4 separate regions of the Homo sapiens genome follow, and all the other regions are linked to region 1. Evidence: promoter capture Hi-C in 16 types of primary human blood cells and fetal thymus (Javierre and others, 2016). All regions are on one chromosome and are shown on one strand. The core of a region is centred on a gene start or on the middle of the fragment in contact, and the rest is flanking DNA. Distances in the headings are between cores, read along the strand shown.

Evidence for each region. Contacts are between HindIII fragments. The CHiCAGO score rates a contact against its expected background, and 5 or more counts as called.
Region 2: a contact is called between a fragment that was not itself captured here and the fragment with the promoter of GKN1 in region 1, in 1 of 17 cell types (activated CD4 T cells). The highest score is 7.1, in activated CD4 T cells.
Region 3: a contact is called between the fragment with the promoter of CNRIP1 here and the fragment with the promoter of GKN1 in region 1, in 3 of 17 cell types (naive CD8 T cells, activated CD4 T cells and naive CD4 T cells). The highest score is 6.8, in naive CD8 T cells.
Region 4: a contact is called between a fragment that was not itself captured here and the fragment with the promoter of GKN1 in region 1, in 4 of 17 cell types (activated CD4 T cells, naive CD4 T cells, non-activated CD4 T cells and 1 more). The highest score is 9.2, in activated CD4 T cells.

What each region holds. Positions count from the first base shown.
Region 1 is chr2:68,971,490-68,976,829 of GRCh38, forward strand. GKN1 (gastrokine 1) reads left to right here and starts at 3,147. Exons shown (of 6, transcript NM_019617.4): 1 at 3,147-3,200. The coding sequence starts at 3,189. RefSeq lists a silencer at 637-869. The HindIII fragment of the contact is 2,059 bases long and covers 1,710-3,768 here.
Region 2 is chr2:68,106,213-68,111,552 of GRCh38, forward strand. LOC105374789 (a long non-coding RNA gene) reads right to left here. Exons shown (of 3, transcript XR_940223.3): 1 at 4,115-5,340. Among named protein-coding and RNA genes, the nearest start is that of C1D, 46 kb to the left of the region's middle. The HindIII fragment of the contact is 981 bases long and covers 2,365-3,345 here.
Region 3 is chr2:68,317,313-68,322,652 of GRCh38, forward strand. CNRIP1 (cannabinoid receptor interacting protein 1) reads right to left here and starts at 2,637. Exons shown (of 3, transcript NM_015463.3): 1 at 1,910-2,637. The coding sequence starts at 2,088. The HindIII fragment of the contact is 3,613 bases long and covers 1-2,761 here.
Region 4 is chr2:68,450,525-68,455,864 of GRCh38, forward strand. No RefSeq gene overlaps it. Among named protein-coding and RNA genes, the nearest start is that of FBXO48, 14 kb to the right of the region's middle. The HindIII fragment of the contact is 539 bases long and covers 2,278-2,816 here.

The DNA.
Region 1 (5,340 bases), core at 1,897-4,396:
CAGAGAACAAGAAGGAATGTGAAAAGTCTGATTTCTGTGGGAAAGCACTTTGGTTCCAACCATTTGGGATCTGATTGACATCTTTAAATGAGCAGTTTAGTCCTTTGCAGGCCTCCCTCCAGTTGCACACAGGAGCATATTGCACATGGGATGCATCCCGTCTGCTCCACACGGAGGGAGTTTCCACTGAGCACAACACAGGGTGTGGAGTAGAATGAAGCCTTGGGTGTGTGTGCATTGTGAGATAAAATGACGATAGGGGCTTGTTTCTTGGCATGGCCCAGCATCAATCTCTGTAGGCAGGGCAGGCTCTATTTACCCATGGGCTGATTTGTTCCACACTAACCCCAAGCCACAGAGGTCACACCATCAACTGAGACTCCCTCAATGTGTCATCACAGCCAGTGTAGGGCAGCCCCTCTCAGGCTGGCACCAAAACCAGAAATGACTAAATATAACGCACTTTTTATCCTGTAGCTTAACATCTCCTTTACGCAAGTAAAATTTTTACAAGGGGCCTACTGAGCACCATATATGTGTCTGCATATTTTAGATTCTATGGAGGTGACCAAAAACATTGGTATGTTCTGTCTTCCTGGGAAGACATTCTTCTTCAAGGGAAGAATGAAACATAAAACACAGTTCTCAGGGCAAAAGTCTTGCTCATGCTTCATTAGGACTTTTGGCCTTGGATGAGACCAGGATTGAGGTGAGGGTTGACCCCCACCTTGACCCCCACACTCCCTCTCCCCCAACCTCCCACACCACACAAAGTACAGAAAAAGAAGTTTTTCTGGTTGTAGAGCCATTGAAGTAACAAATATTGTATAAAGGAGGAATTTCTTCTCTTTTACCCACAAGAAACCTAAGGCCTAAACCAAAAAAATAAATGACTCATTGAAAGATGGGAAAATAGAATCTAGGTCTCCTGGCTCCCAGCTTCATCCAGTAGCTCCCCAAATGGGTTTTCAAATCCAGGGTGCATCCTCAGAGGTGGCACAATTTTTTCACTAAGGCAGGGGTCCCCAGAGTTGTTATGAGATGTTAGGACAAATAAATAAAAGAAAAAGGGAAAACGATCAGGTTCTGTAGTCAACTAAGATGAGAAGAACCTGGATGAAACAGAGATTTTTCCCCTATAAATTTCTTAGCCCATTTGATGTGTGAATGTGAATTGTCAGTCTCTAAAGGGGGGATTATTGGACCCGGAACTCTACCTATGTATCTATGTATGTGTGTGTATCTATGTGTGTATACGTGTGTATGTATGTATGTATGTATGTATGTATGTATCTATCTATCTATCTATCTATCTATCTATCTATCTATCTGTCTGTCTGTCTGTCATGGAACATCTTCCAGACCAGCATTTCACAGGTCCACTGCAGAACTTCAGGCCCTTGTCCTTGGTATGACATGCAAAATGTGTGCTGGGCACTGCACCTGTGTACCAAGATGACTACTGGTGGCTGAGTTTAAACGTAGAGACCATGCTACCCACTCATTGACTTCTCAGTGACATGAAGTTTCCTAAAGCAGATGAAGGCCTCTTCACACATGTCTGCCCCTTACTCCAGGCTTATTACCTTCTGTGGATAAAGAGTGAGTTTGAAAGAAATCAGTGGACACATTAAAAAATATCCAGTAATACTGCAGCTGTTCTAATCCACTCCTACCAACAGTTTTGAAGAGATGTTGATAGCGAATCAAGCTTTATAACCATGTGATCCCATCTTATGGTTTCAATCCATGCACAGGAGGAAAATTGTGGGCACGAAGTTTCCAAAGGGAAAATTTATAGATTGGTAGTTAATGAAATACAGTTTTCCTCCTTGGCAAATTTAATTTACTAGCTTCACTGTATAGGAAAAAGCAGGAAAAAAATTAAAACCAACTCACCTCCAAACCTGTTTTGAGCTTTTACTTGTCTGCCCAATTGATAGTTTCTACTCTCTGCTTTTGATGAAAATATTTTTTATTATTTTAATGTAACTTCTGAAAACTAAATTATCTAGAAGCAAATAAAAAGATATTGCTTTTATAGTTCCCAGAAGGAAAAAACAAACACTAGGAAAGTTCTATCTATCAGATGGGGGAGATGTGATGGAGGCAGTGATATTTGAGCTGAGCCTTGAACAATGAACAGGAGTCTACCAAGCGAGAGGCTAGCGGGTGGCCCTCCAAGATAAAACAACAGCATGTACAAAGGCATGGAGACATACACATCTTGACTTTTCCAGGAATGGTGGGAACGCTGGTGGAGCTAGAATGTAGGTACATAGCATAAAGTGGCAGACGGGAAGCCTTTGGAAATCTTATTACATAGGACCCTGGATGCCATTCCAATGACTTTGAATTTTCTGTAGGCTGCCAGCGAAATTTCCAAGCGTGATAGAGTCATGTCTATCTATGCACTTCAGAAAGACAACCTCAGGGTTAATGAAGAAAATGCATTGGAATATAAGAAACTGGTGACCAGAGTGATCAATTGCATGACTGTTGTGAAAGTCCAGGTGAGGGGAGCTGTGGGCAAGGTCAGAGTTGAGAGGCATTTCAGAGATAAAATGACAGTAACTAAGTAGATGTCAGACTGAGAAGAAAGGGCTGTACCAGATATATGGTGCTATCATTAAGTGAGCTCAACATTGCAGAAAAGGGGTAGGTTTGGTGGGAGTTGCTCACAAAACATGTTTAGTCTAAGCAAAACCATTGCCATGGGCTCAGATAAAAGTTAAGAAGTGGAAACCATTCCTACATTCCTATAGGAGCTGCTATCTGGAAGGCCTAGTATACACGTGGCTTTTCAGCTGTGATTTTGTTTGATTTTAGGGATTATTCTTTTTCTGAATCTGAGCAATGTTAGCGTGTAAAATACTCACGCCCACAGCTTTGACTGGGTGAGAAGTTATCATAAATCATATTGAGTTTGTTGTGATACCTTCAGCTTCAACAAGTGATGAGTCAGGTCAACTCCATGTGAAAGTTCCTTGCTAAGCATGCAGATATTCTGAAAGGTTTCCTGGTACACTGGCTCATGGCACAGATAGGAGAAATTGAGGAAGGTAAGTCTTTGACCCCACCTGATAACACCTAGTTTGAGTCAACCTGGTTAAGTACAAATATGAGAAGGCTTCTCATTCAGGTCCATGCTTGCCTACTCCTCTGTCCACTGCTTTCGTGAAGACAAGATGAAGTTCACAGTGAGTAGATTTTTCCTTTTGAATTTACCACCAAATGATTGGAGACTGTCAATATTCTGAGATTTAGGAGGTCTGCTTCTTATGGCCCCATCATGGAAAATTTGTTTTAAAAAAATTCTCTCTTCAAACACATGGACACAGAGAGGGGAACAACACACACTAGGTCCTGTTGGGGGGTGGAGAGTGAGGGGAGGGAACTTAGAGGACAGGTCAATAGGGGCAGCAAACCACCATGGCACACATATACCTATGTAACAAACCTGCACGTTCTGCACATGTATCCCTTTTTTTTAGAAGAAGAAATAATGAAAAAAAATCTTTTTTCTATTTATATAATCATGGCATTTATAAGCATCTCTATAGAGAAGGATAATTGTGCTGAGATTAGACAGCTGTCTGAGCACCTCACACTGACCTATTTTTAACAAAATGACTTTCCGCATCACCTGATTCCGGTCTCCATGCAGGGTAAGCAGTTCCTAAGCCCTAGAAAGTGCCGATCATCCCTCATTCTTGAATTCCTCCTTTTATTTACCAAAATTCCTGAGCATGTTCAGGAAAGATGAAAAGCTTATTATCAAAATAAGTGGCTGAGATAGACTTCTTGTCACATTTGTTACAGTAAAATGGGTCTCCAAGAAAGAAAGATTTGCCTTGGGCTCTAGCATGGCCATTTATTTAAGAAAGCATCTGAAACATGAAGCTACCACAGCATCTCTCCTGTGGTTCCAGACAGAAGCCTGAGAGTCTAGGAGGAGGTGGACCGAGAAACCCTGCCAAAGTAACTAGTAGTGCCGGGTTTCTCACAACACGATGCAAAGGGGCTAGAATCAGATGACTATTTTCATGTTTCAACATACTACACACTGGAAAACGTTACGGCAGACTCTACTTTATAATGGGGCTGCAAATGTAAAATGACTACCTAGAACTAGGTCCTCTTAATAGCAGCAAAGTTTAAAAGGGTCAGAGGGAGCTCCAGACACAGGTTAGATTTGATTTCTCTCCTAGTTCTGCTGTGAACAAGAGGTATAAGTTTGGCCAACTCACTTAACCCCTGAAGCTCAGTTACCTTATCTGTAAAATGATTGCATTGTACTAGGTGTTCTCTAAAATTTCTTCTACCTCTGACTTTTTAGGAGACTAATTTTTAACTCCTTTTTAAGCTATTGGGAGAAAAATTTAATTTTTTTTCAAAAGTTACCTTGAATCTCTAGAGCAGTTCTCAAAACTATTTTGTCCCAGGCAAAGGAAATGAGACTAGGTACCCAGAATGAGGCACCCTGCATAAAGCTCTGTGCTCTGAAAACCAATGTCAGGGACCCTGTGATAAATAATTAAACCAAGTATCCTGGGACACTGCTAGTGACATCGCCTCTGCTGATCACTCTTGCCAGCGAGACACTCTATACTTGCTTTCTCATCATTGGCATCCAAACTGCCTACTAATCCATTGCTTTGGAAAGTTTTTTTTAATAAAAAGATTATTTCTATTAGGAAGAAAACATCCCATGTTAAATAGGAAAATTAACTGAAATCATTTTCAGATGTGATTTTTAGCACTTATAGCCATCTCAAACCATAGTATTCATTTATACTATGCTATTTATTGTAAAACTTCTTTTTTTTTCCAAGGAAAATAAGATAGTTTGCTTTATTTTAAAACAGTAACTTTCTTATATTGGGGCACTGACCAAAATTCAATACTGGTACAAATATGTTACCTAGGAGGTCAAAATATGTGCCAGGTGAATTTTCTGAATTTCTCTAAAGAGAGAATTTTAAACCTTATAAAACAATTAGAAACAAGTGAGTGAGAGGTGAGCATCAACAACCTGTGTAACATAAGCCACAGTACAAATTTAAGCTGAATAACCAAGCCATGTCAGTTATCCCAAATCATTTTTGTTAATATTTAGGAGGATACACATATTTTCAATAACTTAAAAGTGAATCTTTACTCCTATCTCTTAATACTCGAAGAAGTATAACTTTCTTCTTTTACTAGATTTAAATAATCCAAATATCTACTCAAGGTAGGATGCTGTCATTAACTATAGCTGAGTTTATCCAAAATAGAAAAATCATGAAGATTTATAAAGCATTTTAAAAATAATCATTTATAGCAAGTCCTTGAAAG
Region 2 (5,340 bases), core at 1,605-4,104, 870 kb before region 1:
AACTCCCTACTGGAATAATTTTTCTTCTTCCTGAATTACATCCTTTAGAACTTCATTTAATTAAGAACCATTGGTTGTAAATTATCTCATTCTTTGCTACTCTGAAGATGTCTTTATTTAGCCCCTTTTCCTGGGAAAGTACGTTTCCTGGAACACAGTAAGTTAATCAGTTTGAAGATATTATTCTATTGTTGTCTAGTTTCCCTTGTCAAGGAGTCTCCTGTCAGCCAACTTGTTTTTATTTTGTAGGTGATCCTTTTCTCTGGCTTTTATTTAAGATCTTCTTTTGGCCTTTAGTATTTTGTTCTATTACACAAGAATGTGTCTAGGTGTGGAATTTTAGTCTGCTTAGTATATGTTGGTCTTCCTATAGCTGTGGATTCATGGCTGTCATCATATTTGGAAAATTATAATCCATGATATGTCAAATGTTGTCTCTCCTCTATTTGTTCATTCTATCTTTTGTATTGCTTAACTTCTCTGTCATACTTTTTATCTCCCTATCTAGCCCTTATCTAGCCCTAACAATAATTTCTCATATTTTTTTGATAGCTCACCAATTTTAACCAATCCGTTGTGTTATTAATATCTAGGTTATGGCTGGGTGTGGTGGCTCATACCTGTAATCCCAGCACTTTGGGAAACCAAGGCAGGAAGATCACTTGAGCCCAGGAGTTTGAGCCTAGCATGGGCAAGATGGCAAAACCTCATCTCTACAAAAAATTTAAAAATTAGCCAGGTGTGGTAGTGTGTGCCTGTAGTCCCAACTAGGAAGGCTAGGATGGGAGGATCCCTTGAGCCCAAGAGTTCAAGGCAGCAGAGAGCTGTGATCACACCACACCACTGCACTCCAGCCTGGGTGACAAAGTGAGACCTCGTCTCTATTTTTTTAATTACAAAAATTTTATATATATATAATTTATATATATATACTTATATATATATATCTACTTACCACTCAATGCTATGTATACATATATATATAGAGAGAGAGAGAGAGAGATGTTATAATTTTTCATTTCTTCATTTTATTTCAAATGAGAAAATGAATGCCATTTCTGATTTTCCAGGTCACTTTATAGTCTCTTCCATGCACATTTTCTAAGTAAATTTTTTTTATCTTTGAATTTTCTTTAAAATGCTACGTGTCTAATAATTACAATGTCTAGAATCTGTGGGGTGTGGGTCTATATCTGTTTTTAGTTTCAGCTGACATTCAATATGTATTCATTTCCTAGTGAGTTCTATAACAAATTACGACCAAATTGGTGACTTAAGACAACACAAACTCTTTCTCATACAGTTTGGGGTCAGAAGTCCAAAAGCGCTAAGCTAAAGTCAAGGCTGATTCTTCTGGAGGCTGTAGGAATGATGTTCCCTTGCCTTTTCTAGCTTCTAGGGGCTTCCATCATTCCATGGCCAATGACCCCTTCCTTGCATCATTCCATACTCCAACCTGTTGCATCTTCTACTTTATTTATTTATTTATTTATTTATTTATTTATTTATTTATTTTTGTAAAATGAGATGAGGTCTTGCTATGTTGCCTAGGCTGGTCTTGAACTCCTGAGCTCATGCGATCCTCCCACCTCAGCCTCCCAAAGTGCTGGGACTACATGCATGAGCCACCCTGCTTAGCCAACATCCTCTACTTCTGTAGTCACACTTTCCTCTGCCTCCCTCTTATAAGAACACTTGTGATTACATCTAGGACCCATTTGGATAATACAGAATAATCTCTTCATTCAAGATCCTTAACTTAATCACACCTGCAAAGTCCTTTTTGCCATGTAAGGTGATACTAACTAACAGTGCAGTGTGACAGGCTGCCCTACCAGGTTACTTAAAAGTATATGCCCGCTGCCTGAACCCTGAAGGCCAGATAGTAAGTCACGGCCATGGTACCCAGCTGAGGAGCAGGTGTCCCTGAGAGCCTAAACATCCCAGGGAGTATGTGAGAACCTACCAAAGAAAACAGTACCATCACACAAACACAGTAGGCAAAGAGCCCGAAAATTAGCTTAACAGCAGCTTAGAGAAGGGAGGTGGCACAGATCTCTTGAGCTGTGCTGCTGCCACTCAGGAGTGCCCTGCCCTGTATGTCTCAATAAACTCATCTACTTGCCAAACACAACTTCCCTAAATCATTCTTTGGTCTTTCGGCACCTTCCCAACTTGGGAGGGATAGGGGATGTTACAGTCTCAAATTTTTCTCATAACACACGGATCCAGGGCTTAGGACTGAGATATTCAGGGGTGCCATTTTCTAGCTCATTACACACTTACTGTGTCAGAGACTCAGTTGACAACAAGCATCCATTCCCCAACTCCCTTGCTAGTAAGGAAAATACTAATTTTTAGTCAAGCTTATTGTTGGCCAGTTAAAACTCCCTAGTTTTTGTTCACATCAAGATGTGATCATTGTGGTTAAATTTTTGACAATAAATTTTAAGTGGCAGTACTGTGTGCAAACTTCAGAATGTTTTGGTTTTGTTTTTTTTTAAATAGGCCTGCCCTTCATCCCTTTCCTTCCACAATTGGCCTGGAATGTGAGCATCTGGAGCTCTAGCTGCCATCTTGGGTCACAAGAACAAGGAGCATAACGTAGATCTGAGATGATTCATAAACTGTAAAGAAACAGGTCCCTGATGAATTTCTGATGAATCTGTCCTGGACACCTATCTCATGACGTCTTTTAGATGAAAACAAATAAAACTGTGTGTGTCTAAGCCACCATTATTTGTTTGTTCTGCTGTGTGAGGCTAAACTTAGTCCTAACTCATATCATCATTATGTCTTTTGTTTCTTTGTATATTTGGGGATTTTTTCATCATAATTATCCATTTGGTTTCACATAGTCTATAGGAATCCTGAAATCCTGAATTAATGACACCTTCCTCAAAAGGGATTTGAATTTATATATTTCTGGAATTACGTATGCTAACAACAAGGGACAGCTTTAGCCTCCTTAATTAGGACACAGGGCCTGGCAGCAGCCTCAGAGCTTAGCTTTCAATCCCTCATTTGTGACTGACACTGGCATTTCTCCTCCAAGTTTTGCAGTTTGCTTACCACTCAATGCTAGCTTTAGCTTACTATGCATGTTTGCATGTTGTTTTATTTTGTTTTGTTGACATTGGAAAGTTCCCTTTGTTTCTTGTAAGAGCTCAACGTATTTAAAAAAAGTTATAATCTGATTATATTGCCATTGTAGTGGAATATTACTTCAGAGTCCTGTTCACCATTCACCCAGAAGCGGCACTGACGCCCTTCCCATGCCAGTTTCACCATTAGATGTGCTACGAAGGCTTTATGTCAGATTGACCCATCCAATACTTTGATGCAAGCTTGGTACAAGCAGAGCTCTTCTGAAAATAATATTGTTACCACTTTCTATGTGGTAACAATTCACTCATGTATTTGTACTGGGGATTCGGTTTGCACTCATTACTATTATTTTCTTTTAGAGTTTCTGGGACCTCTTTCAAATTACACGAGTTCATTCCTCTGCCTGCAAAGATTCGGACCCATCCCCAGGGATGTGTATAATACAATTCTACTAAGGGAAATACACTATTACTCTGCAACTTGCTTTTTTAATTAATAATATGTCATTTTGCCTTTCAGTACTTATAGTCACCTCATTCTTCCTTCATAGCCGAATAGTATTCTGTGGTACATACCACAATTTATTAAACAATTTTACCATTGATAGACCTTTAGGTTGCTTCCAATATTTTGATATTATTAATACTGCTGTGCTATAATAAGCATATATATACTTGTATATGTGCACATATTTCTGAGTAAATTTATACTTATTGGTTCAAGGGGTATGAATATTTAACATTTTGATGGATGTTGCCAATTTGTCTCCACCAAAAGCCATGCTAATGTAATGTGTTTGTGACAGAGACTACTAATGCCAACTTAATATTAATTTTCCCAAATTCTATACTGAAAGAATCCCTATTTTATTTCAGAGCGGTGGTATGCCTAGCCAAAGGCAACATTTCACAGTCTCACTCTGAGCTAAGTGTAGTCACATGACTAACTTCTGTCCGCTGAACTATGAATGAAAGTGTCGTGTGGGGTGTGCTGCAGTGCCACTTACTGGAAGATGTGCCACTTTCCACCCTTCTATCTTTATTCCTTCTTCAAACCTTCTCAGTGGTTTGATGGCAAGGTCCTTGCAGTCATCATGAACCATGAAATCATCTTGAGGATAGGGGTAGTGGAGAAAAAAGAATGGAGCCTGAATCATGGAGAGACACTATGCAACTTTAGACTACCTACAGCTTGACTTTCATTATATGGGAGAATTAACCCATTATTTTCCAGGTCTTTGCTACATGCAGGTAAATACTATTTCTAAATAACACAGCACCCCTTTCAATCATATAAACAATACACCAGTCCCATTGAGTACTTGCTGTGGTCCCCATCATGTGCTGTAGACTGTCACCGCAGAGCCCTTGCTCACTACCACAGTGGCTGTTCTTTCTGCATGGGTCAGTGCAACCAGGTAGGTGGGCTTGTACATTGACTCCTCATCCTTTCTTTCCCAATTGGTGACCTCAGTTCACAGGACTAGTAGAACAAACTTTAAATTTTCATTTTTGGCTCAGATCATCTAGGGAAATTAGTCTACACAAATACACACACACACACATACGCACATCCAGTACATACAGAAAACCAAATGGCTTTTCAGAATCCACAAATCTTCCCATACTTGAAGCAATCCTTACTTCAGTCTGAAGAGTTTTCCAAAATAACCCCTCAGCCCCTTTTAAGAGAAGACCTATCTAATGAAAAATATAAACGTTCTATGGAATAAAACATTGCAGACTTAATAATTCAAAACTGCTACTAAATCAATGTACTGCTTGTTGGTTTGTCAATATAGCTTTTTCAATTAGACAATTTTATTACAGTGATGAATACCAATGGCACAATTAAGAGACTGCCGTTCTAAATTATGGTCTGTTTAGCCTAACAATCCATATTTGCTACTGAATAAATGTGATGACTATAGCCTCCTAAAGATGAATGGGCCTCTATTGGCAGCTGCACCTGTCCCTGGTGAGGACTGGGCAGGAATGACTCTCATCATATTCCTTCATGGGATCCTTCTGGCTGACCACTGTAATGGCATGTTGCCTCCCTTCACAGTGCCCTCTCCTACACCAGGAACACCTACCCTGCTGGTGATGGGTGTTGTAGATAGTGCCTGACAAGTAAGTTCCGAGTTCCACACCAAATCCCGCTTTTCCTGGTAAATGAAAACAGCACATGAGGTGAGGCACATTGGCTCTTTTTCCCAGCACTTAGGGAGGT
Region 3 (5,340 bases), core at 1,387-3,886, 650 kb before region 1:
ATAGACTTGAGTTGACCACATACGGTTGAAATTAGCCTAGGCACCCTGTCCTGTTTTGGACCAAAACTCTAGGCAGGAAACTTACAGGGTTTCACTAAGGGGGGCATTGTGGTGCGGGAGAAAGTTCTGCAAGTTCAGGGGGCAGTGCTTCTCCTATTTATGAATTAAAAACCTACCTATCCCCAGCCCCAGACATTAGGATTCAGTTGGCCTGGGATGTAGTTTGGACACTGGTACATTTATTTTAAGGTTATCTAGGTGATCTTAATATGCAGGTAGGATTGAGAATACTGAACTCGTCCTCTAATATTTTTTTTCTCCTGTTCCAACAATCAGGGGTCCTATGATTTGGAGTACCTCAAGCCTTCTACACCATCAGAAATTCTCACTGGCATCATTCTTTTGTGTTAGGATAATGGTTCTCAAAGCCAAGTCCCTGGACCAGCAGTATCAGCATCACCTGCAGACCTTAGAAAACAAATTCTTAGGCCCTACCATAGACTAAACTAGAACTTCTAGGGAGAGCTCCAGCATCTGTGTTTTAACAAGCACTCCAGGTGATTCTGATATATACTCAGGTTTGAGAACCACAGGATTAGAGTTGAGAAATCCTTGATAGCATTAAAATGTAACCAGAAAAAATAGTTTTATTCCTAACAAATTAACTTTTAGATTAGTTTGAACACTAGAGGAATACTCTAAAAAAAAAAAAAAGAAATATATTAACAGATAACTCCGGGGATAAGGTTGGCAGGAAAGAAGGGAAAGGAAAAGCCTGGATTATATCCAGGTGCACAGAACACTGGGAAATGTGAGAATAAAGGGTGCATGGAGCTGTGGGGGATGCTGACAAATAGATGAATCAGGAGTACCAGAAACCATCCAGATTTGGTTCTAGGTCCTTGCACCTTGGAAGGCTAATACAAGTTTACTGAATTAAAACGTAAGCTATAAGTAGTATCTGATGAATTCAAAGTCCTTCCACCCCCGCAATAATGCCCACCATATGTAGTAGATACAATAAATGCTGGTTTATTTTCTCTCTGCAGACTAGACTTTGGTAGGTAGAAACGAGAGGTAAAGGGGCTCCACCCGCAGTTCTTCCGGGTAGGCTACTGCATGCTCCCACACACTTTCCCGCCAGAGGTCTACTGGGTGCATTATCCAGCGGTCGCTGGCAAGAAATCGTCCCTGCCATGGATAAACCAAAAAACATCCTCTTGCTGTGGGGATGTTGCTAATCCCAGGCACCATCACCAGCCTGAACAGAAAACTCAGGAGAAAAAGAACAGCATACGGCATGGAAAACCGTGAAACTAGGCCAGAGAAGGGGCGGCCGCTCTCTTACTAGTGTCTGCTGCTCCACCCCAGGGTCCCAGCCACTGAATGGCGAAGGGAGTGGGGAGCATCCCTCAGGGAGCCCCAGTAATCACCCCTCCCCTGCCTTTCCACCTCATTCCTCCTTTCTCCCTCCTTCAGCCTTGCGGGCAGACCCTGTGGGCCGCCTGGACCGCGCGCAGGAGGGCTGGGATTGCGGTGGCTGAACCCTGCGGACCTCTCCCATCTGCTCCACCCCGACCGCCTGCGGTTCCGCGCCCAAGGCTGGACAGAAGGCAGGAGAAATTTATAAGAAACAGACAAGCAAAAACCCTGGCTTCTTGTCACTGATTTTAAAGAACCCACTGAGGTCACTGCGATGGGTGGAGGGAAGCGAGAATGGAGGAATACAAGCCAAAGGGAAGGAAGGGGACGAAGGCGGACAGGGAGTGACCTCTTCCTCCAACCCCCGGGCCCGCTGGGAGCGGCGCGAGGCCAGAGGCCCTTGAGAGGCTCGGGCTGTCCTGGGGGCCTCAGTCCTCTGCCTGTACCCCATGGGGGACCCTGCTGCCACCAGGCGCCCCGCACTCACTCGACCTGCAGCGTGCTGGGTTTAATCTTCACCTCAACCTTGTAGGAGGAGCCGGTGAGCAGCTTGATGGTGCGGTTCTGGCCGAAGCGCTGCCCGTCCACCTTGTAAAAGACCGGGCCGTCATTAGGCTGGATGCGCAGCGCGATGGAGAGGCGCACGAGGCCCGGCAGGTCCCCCATGTCTGGGCGAGGGTCTGGCGCGGCGGCTCCGGGGGGCGGAGGACAGCGCCGGCTGCGGCCGAGTGGCTGGAGCGCGAGGGGCGGAGAGGAAGCGCGGGGAGGGTGAGGGAGGTGGTGGAGCTGAGGCTGCCGCTAGGAACCCGCGCCGTCGCCGCCGTCCGCCCGGGCTTTTGAGGAGCAGCTCCTTAGGCTGTGGCCCCCCTCCCCACTCGGCGAGGAAGCGGGCCCAAGAGACGGCTCCAAGGCCGCGCGCTTCCCCATCCCCCGCTCCAGTGCTGCGCCCTCCACGCACCCGAAGGCTCGCTCTGGCCCGCAGGCCGCCGCGCAGATCCGCGCAGCTGGGGGCGAGGGAGTTAATCCTGTTTACGCACCACAATCCCCTTCAGCTGGGGAAGCGGACATTTAGGCTCCTCCTAGAACAGCCCCGGGCAGGAGGAGGAGAGGTTTGGGAGGCACTGGGAAGGCGCTGGAGTTAAGCGACCACTATGCCAAGGAGCGAGACCCCCGGAATCTGGATACCGCCTCGGCCAGCTACGTGAGGTGGACACTGCTGCTCGCGGATCCGGCGCCAGCCAGGCGGGAGGAGGCTGAGGGGGGGTAAAGGGAGGCGGGAAGGGGGGACAGGAAACCGCTAGCCGGTGATTTAAATTTCAGGAAATATGAGTCTTTCCAAAGCTTAGGGGAAATGGCCGAGGAAAGGCGCAATTCCACGTGATGGAGCCACGCTGGATGAGGAATGGATGCAAGAGGAAGAAAATAACCATATTCAAGGAGCTACATCTTCTTGTGGGTGTACATTTCCATTATACGTATGCTCGTCCCAAAAATGACACATACATAAATATATGTAATGAATCACATATATTTACACAGATTTTGAAGGGTGAGCTATTAACCCTGTAAAAGGCAACTGACATGAGCCTAAGGCATTCTGGTGACAAAATGGCCAAGAGGTGGGATGGGTCAAAGGATTATTGGCAGGGGGCCATATGCGACACCGCAGAGTTTAGATTTGCATATTAAGCGTGATTAGACAGTTTTCGTGGCAGAGGTCGGTAGACAGCTGACTTTTGGAAGCGAGGGGAGACTCAGGGGGTGAGGACTATACTGGGAATGGCTTCCCGGAGCAGAGAGAGCACCTGCTTCAGCACCACCCAGATGGATAGTACCAGAGCCAGGGAGCACACCTGGGAAATGAAGTGGGCTAGTGAGAACAAATGGGTAGGGATGCGTTTCCTTGGCAGTTTTTGTTTACCCAAGTTAGACTGCTCTTTTTTAAGAAATAATAAGCTATACATATAATATATATGTAATATGGGTGTTTATTGCAACATTGGTTGCAAAAATAAAAATAAAACCTAAATGAAATGTTAACCAATAAATAAATGGCTGAATAAATTCTTATATACCCACACTATAGAACGTTACACAACTATCAAAATAATGAAATATAGGTTGCATTGGCAAACACACAGGCAAAAACTGTTAATGATAAAAGTGGGATGGCTGGGAAACAAAGCCTGAGGGCGAGCATTTTGTCTGTTTTGTTTGTTGCTGTTTCCCCAGCATGCCAAAATAGTGCCTGACACATAGTAGGTGCTCCAGAAATCGTTGTTGAATTGACTTACGGTTGTGGTCTTAATCATGTCCATATGTAAATTCTTTCACATCTTTAAAATTAATTAGATCCTTGCGATTTACCTGGAATGATGAAAAGAAATCTAATTGCAAGTAGCATCTCTAGTGTTTTAGAAAAATGAAAATTTAAAAAGAATATAAATGTGTATGTTTGTATTAGCTCTTTTAAAAGAATGAGAGAGTTACACAGTAAACTTAATGTTGGTTATTATGGTTTATGAGTAGTGGAAAGAGGGTGAGTATCTTTTTGGGGTCATTTAAAAGCCTTTTTGGAAATTTTGCCTTTTTTCCTCAACCTTTTGTTTAGCAACCCCACAATCTCAAGCCAACTTCCACCTGTGTATCAAAAAGAGCATTGGACCTGGAGGATGATGACTCCATTTTAAAACCTGGTTCTAAGGCCGGCATGGTGGCTCATGCCTGGAATCCCAGCACTTTGGGAGACCAAGGAGGGCAGATCATTTGAGGCCAGGAGTTCAAGACCAGCCTCGCCAAAATGGCAAAACCTGTCTCTACTAAAAATACAAAAAATTAGCCAGGCGTGGTGGCGCATGCCTGTAGTCCCAGCTACTTGGGAGGCTGAGGCATGAGAATCGCTTGAGCTGGGGAGGCAGAGCTTATAGTGAGCCGAGATCATGCCACTGCACTCCAGTCTGGGCAACAAAGTGAGACTCCATCTGAAAAAAAAAAAAAAAACCCACACAAAAACAAAAACAAAAACTCTGGTTCTAGCCTGGCTAGGTAGTGCACTCTTGCAGTCCCCACTACTTGGGAGGCTAAGGTGGGAAGATCACTTAAGCCGACGAGTTTGAGGCCAGTATGGACAAAATAGTAAGACTGCCATCTCATAAATAAATAAAATAAAAAAAACCTAACTCTGCCACTTTTTAGTTTCGTTATGCAAATAACTTAACATCTTTATGTTTCATCTTTGTAAAATGAGGATTAAAATACCTCCTTCCCAACATTGTGAGAATTGAATGAGGAAATGGAAATTGTTTGAAAAAAATAAATTACTTTTCAAATACGAGGTGTTACTAATGCTGGGCAATATCCATTAGGAATAGCATTTTCAGGACCATACAATGTAATGTCTTAAAATGAAATTAATAAATGTAAAAGTAATTGGAAAATTTATCATCACTGATACATATGTGCAAAGAATATGAATATGGAGTCTGATGGATCTGTGTTTGTGTTGCCAGATCTGTGGATTACAAACTGAGTGACCTTGAGCAAAGCTGCTTTAGTCTCTTGGAGCCCCAGTTTCTTCATTTGTAAAATGATGATGGTGACATAGATGATGCATATAGAACCAAATGAAATTGTGTAAACTATGCAAGAATATCAGGCCCATAGAGACACTCAATACATTGTAACTATTTTTATTTAAAAATATACTTGCTGAATATGTAGCAACTTTTAGTTTAGATTCAGGTTTGTTACTGGAGCGTATTGCATGATGCTGAGGTTTGGAGTAGAAATGATCCCATCATCCAAGTCCTCAGTGTCTATTGTTACCAATGGAATGAAGACTACTAGCCAGGGAGGGAGGGAGACAAGTAAGGGTTGAAAAACTGTTTTATGTCCATGGGTACCCAATGGTTAGCACCC
Region 4 (5,340 bases), core at 1,297-3,796, 520 kb before region 1:
TTTATAAATAAAATATATAATATATAATATATAATATTATAATAGATAAAATATATACTATATATTATATATTTTACATTATATTTAATATTATATGTATAATTTTATATCATATATAATATATATGATATATATAATTTTATATCATATATAATATATATGGTATATATAATTTTATATCATATATAATATATATGGTATATATAATTTTATATCATATATAATATATGATATATAATTTTATATCATATAATATATATTATATATAATTTTATATCTACATATTATATATTATATATACAATTTTATATCTATCTATAATATATATTATATATACAATTTTATATCTATATAATATATATTATATATACTTTTATATTATATATAAAATGTATATTATATATACTTTTATATTATATATAAAATGTATATTATATATAATTTTATTTTATATATAAAATGTATATTATATATAATTTTATTTTATATATAAAATGTATATTATATATAATTTTATTTTATATATAAAATGTATATTATATATAATTTTATTTTATATATAAAATGTATATTATATATAATTTTATTTTATATAAAAAATGTATATTATATATAATTTTATATTATATATAATATGTATATTATATATAATTTTATATTATATATAATATGTATATTATATATAATTTTATATTATATATAATATGTATATTATATATAATTTTATATTATATATAATATGTATATTATATATAATTTTGTATTATATATAATATGTATATTATATATAATTTTATATTATATATAATATGTATATTATATATAATTTTATATTATATATAATATGTATATTATATATAATTTTATATTATATATAATATGTATATTATATATAATTTTATATTATATATAATATGTATATTATATATAATTTTATATTATATATAAAATGTATATTATATATAATTTTATATTATATATAATATGTATATTATATATAATTTTATATTATATATAATATGTATATTATATATAATTTTATATTATATATAAAATGTATATTATATATAATTTTATATTATATATAAAATGTATATTATATATATTATATATAAAATGTATATTATATATATTATATATAAAATGTATATTATATATATTATATATAAAATGTATATTATATATATTATATATAAAATGTATATTATGTATATTATATATAATGTATATTATGTATATTATATATAATGTATATTATATATAATATATATTATATATAATGTATATTATATAATATATATTATATATTATAATATATAATATACATTATATATTACATATTATATATAATATATTATATATTATATATTACATATTATATATAATATATTATATATTATATTAAATATATATTTTATATATTATATATTATATATTATATAAAATATATATATTATATATTATATAAAATATATATATATTATATTATATATTATATTAAATATATATTTTATATATAATATATATAATATATAATATATAAAATATATATTATATATTATATATAAATTATATATATTATATATAAAATATATAATATATATTATATATAAATATACATATTATAGATATCTATTCTTTATCCACTCTTCTTGGTTGATGGACATTTAGGTGTTTTTTTAAAATGTAGTATAAACCAGTAGTTCCTAACAAGAGGGATTTTCCCCCAGGAGACATTTGGCAATGTCTGGCGACATTTTTGGTTGCCAGCACTTGGGAAGTGGTGCTACTGGCATCTAATGAATAGAGGCCAGCGGTGCTGCTAAACATTCTACAGTGTATACGACAGCACCCCTGCCCCTCCCCCAAACAAAGAATTATCCAGCCCAGAATGTTAATAGTGATAAAGTTTAGGGACCTGGTATAGACAGAGATAAAGCACACATGGTTAAAGTTAACAATTGGTTAATCTAGGTGATGATGCCATATTCTAGACTTTGAAATTTTTTGTAAGAGTGAAAACTTTCAAAATAAAACATTTAGGGAGAAAGCACGTTTAAAAATATATAATAAAAGTCTGAGAGAGAAAAAAAAAAGTTGAACTGATGAAAAAAGTAGGCCATACACAGGAAAACAATGGCAAAAGCAGTCCTTTTTATTTTCTTCACTAACCAATGAGAATAAAGACAGGAAATTGTGCTCAATCTACTTGTTAGGCAACAAAAAAACACAACCACAGCAATAAGTGGGGGAGATTCTCACGTGTGATTTTTAGAAAGCTTCTTTTATGGTTTTACATATTTTCTATCAGGATTTCATTGTGTGACAAATGGACTGTATAATTTTGTCATATTAAAAGTAAATCAAAATGAGCAAACTGGGAAACCAGCAGCTGGGTTTTTTTCCCCTACAAGGCACAGAAGACCCATAGCAGAAAAGTAGGCCTCAGAAAATGATTATTAAAAATTTCTTTTGGGCCAGAACAGTGGTTCATGCTTGTAATTCCAGCACTTTGGGAGGTTGAGGGGAGAGGATTGCTTGAGCTCAGGAGTTCGAGGCCAGCCTGGGCAACATAGTGAGACCCAGTCTCTAAAAATAAATAACTAAATTAATTAATTAAGAAAAATTTTTTCTTGAGCAGTTAATGTTTATGATAATACAGTATGATTGGTGTGGTACTTGTAAAACTGCAGTTTTATCTTTTTTTATTTCCATCCGGCCCTGACTGGGTAAGGACAAGGAGGTATTGGAAAATGCAAACAGGTTCATGAAAAAAGTCAGTTTTACTTGTGGTAGAACTCAATATAAGGATGTCAAGCTTTTATTAGAAACCCAACCCGCATGCCTTGTTTATTACCTTCTTCTGTCTCAGCTGTTCTTTATAGTTTTTACTCTTTCTTCCTTTTCCAGCATTATTTTATTGTGTAGAGTAATACTAGAATGGGTTGTTTTTTTTTTGTAATACATTCCGCTGTATTTTCCATGCCCAGTAATTCTTATTTCTCTGCAGCTCTCTGCCTGGAAAGACAGGCATCCAGTGCTTTGTGGGTCTGGTAGGTACAGCCGAGAATAAAGAAGTCAGAACTCAGCTTTGAATTTCAAAAGACTTTTTTCAAGCATAGAAGACTCAGAAGTCTTAACTGCTAGGCTTTCAACTGAGAAACGAAAATAAAATCCAAAGGTCCCCCCTGCAACTGACTAAAAGGACTCCCCTCTTGGCTAAGGAGATCCTAGAGAAATCTTAAAAGCTGAATTCCCAGCCATGATGGATTGGGAGGTCAGACATGCCCTGTTATACTCCCTCCCTTGCTACTTGCCATTATACTTCCACTCCTAAGTGTTAAACAGAAACAGGCCCTTTCTGAAGACTTGCTGGACTCTTCTTCCTTTTTGCAGTTTGACACAACAACTGACCATCATTCCTTCCTGATAAGAGGCCACTAACCATGGACTGGTTCTGGCCGGTTTACAGAAGCTGCACACAGGATGCTTCTGTGTCCTCTGTTTCAGCTTTTGACGTATAGAGCCTAATTTTAATACATTTAAATGTTAAGTTTCCATCCTAAAGTGAACATAGGATGTAGGTAACATACATGTTAGCTTGCTGTGCATGAGTGCACTCCCCTTTTGTGAATATTCATAGCTCCTCCTATAGCCTGTTAAATGTATATACTTAGCTGACCCTTTCAGCCTAAATTCCTGTCTTACCCTTCCCTCCCTAGAAGTACCTGCTTCTGGTTTCTGCCAGAAGCTACCCTTCCCAGGCTGTGGGATGGCCAGCCTGCAGGCTGCAACCCTTTATAAGAAATAAAGCTCTCCTTTCCACATTCATGAACCTCGTGATTCTTCAGTTGGCACAACAAAATGATAGAGGCACTTGAGGAAGAAAAAGGTCTTTTTAATTCCAAATTATTCCCTTTAGAGAATCTAGAACAGTGTTTATTAAATGAACTACCAGATATAGGAAGGAAGAAAAAGATAGGATATGAATGAAGTGCAGTACAGCATTCCCACCCCAAAAGGGATTGAGAAGTTTGCCAGTTGGCGTGAAGAAGAGAATCCAAGAAGAGTAAAGGAGGGTTACATGAGGCATTTCCAAGAGGTCCTACCTCCACCTTCCTCCAGTGTTGAAAGCCACAAACACATTTGATGATTTCGTGACAGAACGGACTTCTGCTGTATGTTCCACCTGGAAACGGTGGGACAAATAGGACATGCTATTTGTTTTAGGTGTGTGCCAATCACAGTAGAGTGGAAATGGGGTATGCTGTAGAGTGTTTAGGCAGAGTGGGCCTGAGAGGAGATTGAGTTACCCTACAATATCACCACTTGGTCAACTCCTATTTTCTTTTCCGTGAGCAGTGTGGAATTGGGAGAGGAATGAGACACACTGTAAAATTTAATCTTGCCCATTAAAAGTACAGTCATCCCTTGGTATCTGCCAAAATTTGCAGATGCTCAAGTCCCTTATATAAAATTGTGCAATATTTACACACAACCTGTGCACATCTTTCCGTATACTTTAAATCATTTCTAAATTACTTATAATACTAATGCAATGTAAATGCTATGTAGTTATTATACTGTGTTGCTTTTTATATAATTTTTTATTGTTGTATTTCCATTTGTTTTTATTTTTCCTAGTATTTTTGACCCGCGGTTGCATCTGTGGATGCAGAACACACGGGTTCAGAGGGACAACCATACTCCAGTCATTTCCACATTAACTCAGGCTCAGCACGTTACTCAGTCTTTCAGGGTTAGAGATGCCAGAGAAAATACAAGATGCTCAGTTAAATTTAAATTTCAGATAAAAATGAATTTGTTTTAGTATAAGTGTGTTCTTTGCAAACATTGGGGACATATACCAAAAAACAATTTGCTATTTATCTGAAACTCAAGTATTTTATTTGCTAAATCTGGCAACTCTACTTGGAGTTGCTCCCTCTTTTTTCCCTTCTTCCTTTTTCCTGACATCCATGCAGAAAGGCGGCTGAAGTAACAGCAAGGCATCGGGGCAAGGCCCTAGGCCTGCATGCTTCCTTCCATTCCTAACAACCTTCCACTTTCCACTAATCCTCTCCTCTCACTGCACTCTTGGTTACTGTAATTTGCAGTCAGTTTTCTTAGCACAATCGGGGATTGAGGTATAGGAGTCTTCCTTCAGCTGACTCTGGCCCACCTCAATTTGCACTGTGGCTACTGTTACTCTAAAGACACTGCAGCAACCTCTATTGGGCTCTTGGTTTAGGCTCTCAATCCCACGGCTTCGGCTGTGAGGCTCCTTTGCTGTGTTCTCAGCTACTTCTACAGCTATCTCATGGGGTGGGGGGAACTCAC